2 separate regions of the Homo sapiens genome follow, and region 2 is linked to region 1. Evidence: promoter capture Hi-C in human tissues and cell types (Jung and others, 2019). All regions are on one chromosome and are shown on one strand. Each heading gives the region's core, a stretch centred on a gene start or on the middle of the fragment in contact. The rest is flanking DNA. Distances are from core to core; before and after follow the strand shown.

Evidence for each region. The method cuts DNA at HindIII sites, captures the fragments that hold promoters and counts their contacts. A contact is called where the count stands out against the background at its distance.
Region 2: a fragment that was not itself captured here is called in contact with the fragment with the promoter of RUNX2 in region 1 in 1 of the 25 tissues and cell types used here (dorsolateral prefrontal cortex).

What each region holds. Positions count from the first base shown.
Region 1 is chr6:45,326,919-45,329,618 of GRCh38, reverse strand. RUNX2 (RUNX family transcription factor 2) reads right to left here and starts at 1,289. Exons shown (of 9, transcript NM_001024630.4): 1 at 1,159-1,289; 2 at 835-958. The coding sequence starts at 892. The region is part of intron 2 of SUPT3H (SPT3 homolog, SAGA and STAGA complex component); the gene reads left to right. RefSeq lists an enhancer at 1,520-1,560, a promoter at 967-1,607 and a cis regulatory region at 2,565-2,571. The HindIII fragment of the contact is 4,056 bases long and covers 1-2,700 here.
Region 2 is chr6:46,501,262-46,503,961 of GRCh38, reverse strand. All of the region lies in intron 1 of RCAN2-DT (RCAN2 divergent transcript), which reads right to left. Among named protein-coding and RNA genes, the nearest start is that of RCAN2-DT, 11 kb to the right of the region's middle. The HindIII fragment of the contact is 4,989 bases long and covers 1-2,700 here.

The DNA.
Region 1 (2,700 bases), core at 40-2,539:
TTATTCATTTTGGTAGGTCCAAGAATGTGATTAAAAGAATCTTAGACGTTTCAGTGTTTCAGTGTGTTTATAACAAGGTCTATGGATAACAGTGTGTAGATGTAAAATTAAAATTACATAGAAAAATGCAGTTGCATGTAAGTTTTAAAATACTTCCATGAACTTTTTAATATCCTGGGCAACTATAAAGATCTTTTAAAAATGGCTGTGATGTGCTTATCATAATTTTATTTCAGCTGAATGTATACTTATATAAAGTTGTTTAGAAACAAACTTATTTAGATAGGATACAGTTTGAATTTATAAGTAGATTTCTTTTAGTTGAGCTGGTTAAAATGTTAACTGTACTACAGGTTTATTTCTGTGTTATACATGGTAGACCATAATGTTGAGATAATTCTGTGGTCTGTTATTTTGTAAAATTGCTTCCTTTTTGAAGTTTGCTCAAATATTGGGAGCTGCCGGAGTCAATAATTTATAATGCTTTGATTAATTTAGGATCTGACTTTTCTTCTGGTGAGGGTTAATGAGAGTATTAAACTGTTTCTTTTACTGTTTTCATATCCTCACCTCTATAACTCTAGAAAACATTTTGATCAATGTGAGATAATTTAATTTTGTATATTTCAAGTCATTACTTTGAAAATTAGATACATTACAGATACCAAATGCAAATATATACAGAAATTTCATTTTTCAATTCTTAATGCAACAAGATAGCATAATTAGGATCTTTAATATGCTATTTGGAAAAGCTAGCAGTTTATCAAAGAATCATACCTTTATGTTTAACAGGTTCATATCTTACAGGATTTTAAAAATGGTAACACTTACCCCAAAAGAAGTTTTGCTGACATGGTGTCACTGTGCTGAAGAGGCTGTTTGATGCCATAGTCCCTCCTTTTTTTTTCAGATAGAACTTGTACCCTCTGTTGTAAATACTGCTTGCAGCCTTAAACTGAAAATACAAACCATACCCAAACCTTGTTTTAGTTTTACAGTATGCCTGGAGTACATAGACTTTATATTTATTTTTTTCTGTCAAGAAATTATGTAGCTGGTAACATGTGAAAAGCAAAGAAACAAAACAAAAAGAGAATGAGCAAATATTTGAAGGACCTACTATTACTGCATAGACTGTGGTTAGAGAGCACTCACTGACTCTGTTGGTCTCGGTGGCTGGTAGTGACCTGCGGAGATTAACCATTTAAAAACCAGAGACTTCTTGCTGTCCTCCTGGAGAAAGTTTGCACCGCACTTGTGGTTCTGTGGTTGTTTGTGAGGCGAATGAAGCATTCACACAATCCAAAAAAGCAAAAGCTTTAAAACTCCTTTTTTTTGCAAGCACTATTACTGGAGAGGCAGAATCATGTGGTTTGTGACCTCACAGTACTCTTAAGTAAAGTGGGACTGCCTACCACTGTGGCTTTTCCCCCTTGCTCTTTCTCTCTCTCTCTTTCTCTCACAAAAGGCTTGTGGTAAGGCCTTTCCTGGCATCCAGAAGGATATAGCTTTTTAATTTTTGTGACTCATGAGGATTTGGATAGAATACAAATGCTGAAGGAGCCCAAACTCCTGTAAGGTTAAGCATTTGTAGAGCAGAGCTCTGCAGTTAAGGGCTTTCCTTTCTACTCCCCGCTCAACCTCTGCCTTTTTGCCTCCTCTTTTTAGTTCATTATTGTGTCTGTGGAAAAATGAACAAAATTGGCTCAAGAGTCTGTGTGAAATTCTGAACAACAGTGATGATATACAATAATTCACATCTTTGGACTGTATCACATTCTGGGGTCTGCTTCATATTTGCTGGGTGGCTGGATTCCTTCTGTTTTCCTTTTTCTTGTCTTCTTAAACTTGTGAATCTGTAACTCATTGTAAAAAAAAAAAAAGTTTACCTTAAGGTCTGGTTGCAAACTGCTTGCTAGGCTTGACTATAATTGGCTGTCATGAAAGTGTTAGTCTGGGCATTCTTTTACAAATTTTAAATCACGTCTGTCTAGTTTATTATCAATCTATTAGATGGCGGCCTTTACAATAAAGATTAAATGTAATGTTTCATGTATACCATTATCTCATGCCTAGTTTGAAGATCTTAAAAAAATGAATGACAGGGATTGTAATATAGTTTATTGGATGAATCTTAGTTTTCTTTATGATTGTAATATTTTTTGTCTTTCATTGAAGTGTATTCAGTTTATATAGTTCTTTAAGTAGTTTAGACATTAATAGAGTTTCTGATAGCAGATCTTCTATAAAGTAAAATGCTTATGTTATAATGTAGATTGTTCAGTATTTGATTCTATGAGCTTAGAATAGAGTGGGTTAACAGAAGCTATGTATTTTTTTGTTTCTAATGGAAGCTTTGAAATAAATTACAAAATGCTGTGTGTAGTAAGGAATAATGCCCACAGACAGAGTATGTTAGTCGTCTCGATTTGCTAATTCTGATTCAGAAGAAAATTGGAAACATCTTTGGGAAACTATCTCCTTTTTTGCCCCTTTGGACAAGTATGTATAGAACTCATTTTCTTATTAGGATGATTATATATCATAGGCAGTGAATTTTATATTTATGAATAGAGCTTCCTGTTTTCATCAGTTGGGAGCGATGGAGTATTTTTCAACCAAAATTATAAAGGCGAACAGACCAATTTTCTAGGCATTTTTTTGCCATTTATCCATGCCACTCTAAATCTGCATGTT
Region 2 (2,700 bases), core at 34-2,533, 1.2 Mb before region 1:
AAACAATATTTTTTGCTCTCAGATAAATTCAAGTCTATGATGGTACATGTTAAGATTAAGTATATTGATTATTTGAAAGGTTTCCTTCTGAGATAACTTCAAATTCTTTTATATTCTTTTTTTTCCTCTGTTTTCCTTCCATGTCAAAATTTGGACAAATTATTATCAGTATTTTGCCATGTCAATCCTTAACTTGCTGTGTGCTGACAAATGTCTAATTGAGTACAAGGCTTAAAATCATTGAGCATTGCCCGAGTGAAGTTTGGCTGTGGAAAGTAAGAATGGAATGAAATAACATTTAATTTAATAAGAATGAAATGAAACTTTAACCCACCAGCCTTGGTTCTTCTTGATGTATCTTTGGGCCTGAAATGAGGTTTCAGTGTTTCTTTGCCAAGTGTGGAAAAATTTTGAGAATAACCGACTAGCAATCTTCTCACCAGGGAGCAGGTAGAACTATTTTTATTGAATTCTAGAATATTAAATTTAGGAAAAAACTGTTATAGATTATATAAATCACTTATCTTCCCCAGTATTTTACAAATGAGAAAACTGAGGCCCAGAGAATTTAGCCCATTGTCACACAGCTAATTAATTGATGGCCAAGGAAAACTAGACATTTGGGTCTCTTTTCCACTTTATCAGCAGCCATTTTATTTATGCCACTTATTCTATGTTTATCCCTATATTATTATACTAGATATACTAGGGAAGGTGGTTACAATTGCTCTAAAATTGAAACTACAGATGGTGTAATGTTTCCAAAATTCAGGTAAGAAAATATCAGAGGTTAGGGTACAGCATTCTGGGTGATCTATTCCTGAAATGTGGACCTCTGAGCTGCAAGTCTGGGGCAGCTCTTGAATGTACAATTGAAGGGAGGAAAGGTTTCATTGGAACACAAGTAGTCTTCTTGGAGTGGCAACTTTCTCTTTCCATCACATGACCAGTAGCCACTGTGTGTATGTGTGTGTGTGTGTGTGTGTGTGTGTGTTAGGGGAGGGAGGAGAACTAAGGCAAGTCCCTGTTGCTGGCACAGCCCAGCCTCACCAAGAAGTCACAGTGCTCCCATCTTCCCCAGTTCCAAGTTGGGTGGGACCCAGTCACATTTCCCATGGATGTCCGTGTAGGCCATCTGAAATGCTATTTCAGAGACAGAGTGTTCTAAATCAGGTTTGTGTTTTGGCAGAGGAATGGAACCCTCTTTTCTAATATTACTTCTGTGGGAAAGTGTTTTCTGAGATCCAAACAACTCAACTTACAAATGCATTTTTGGAATATGACCCATTTGTATGCTGAGGACTGCTTGTTCCAGGGGGAAAACAACTTCCCATATACAGCTTGGTGGAACCAACTGCAGGCATTTCTTATGTTGATATTATTCAAAGAATATTATATAATGTGCCTGAAATGTGAAGCACATTCAGGCTTTCTTCCAGGTAGGGTTGGTTACGAGGTAAGCAGCTCTCCTATGAGGTAGGATTTAAGGATGAGATGAGTCCCTCCTTTCCCATTGATGCCCTCAGCTTGGTCTTATCAAGCTCTCTGATATTGTAAGTGTGAATTAAGGTGGGAGTTTTATGTGAGCTGAATCAGTATGTTGGGCACAACTTTTTCTTAAACCCAGGTTCTTATTTCTGTTTTGACTACTAAAAATACAGATTCACAGGTCCTACTCCTAAAGACTTTCAGGGAAGTGAGAGATAGGATTTAGTAACCTGTATATTTTAAACTTCTTGAGAAAAATTGGTAAAGTTGCTTCTGAGGCAAGATATAATATTTACTGATTCACTAATCATTAATTTAATTATTCATTCTTTCCTCATATACCAAGGTGTGTTTATTGCAACGTAGGTACTGGGTACCAGGCATAGAAAGATGAGAAAAGTACATGCATAGTAAGAGAAGAAAGTGATGTAGGGACTACTGATACTGTTTGGTGAAATTTGGGAGATTGGCATCACACGGAAGTCTTCACAGAGGCATTTATTTATACACGAAGTAACAGCTGAGTCATAGAATGACTAAATTCTTAAGCTAGATAGCCTGGATTCAAAGCTCAGCTCTACCACTTCCCAACTTAGAACCATTGTCAAGTTGCTTAGCTTTCTGTGTCTCAGTTTTCTCATCTGTAAAATGGGGCAATCTTAGTACCTACCTCAGAGAGCTGCCATGAAGATTAAATGTGCTGATGTAGCTCAGGTTTTTAGAAAAGTGAGCTCAAGCTTCAGCGCACATCAGAATCTCCTGGAACTCTTGTTAATTAACATAGGTTTCTGGGTCACCACCCCGAGTTTCTGATTCAATAGATAGAGGGTGGAACTGAGAATTTGCATTTCTAAAAATTTCCCAGGCAGAGGGAAATGCCAGTGCATGGCATGGAAGTGAAAGCTGGGGACAGAAGAGAGAGAAACTGACAGAGAGACAGGATGGACAGTGGCCACCAGACTATAAAGAGCCTTGTCCCATTTAAGTGTAGATGTTATCCAAGAGTAACCAGAGATCCTATTATCAGCCATTAGCACCTTCGCTGAAATTAAGTTATCAGAGTATTCTGTCAATGTGTCAAACCCTGGAGAAATCTGACTCATGCCTCAATTTTGATGGCCCCAATAGATCAGTGTTTCTTCTTTGGAGAATCAACCCACACCAATGAGTCACAGGCACCTGCGGGTGCTCAGTCGTCCAGGCCCCTGTGGC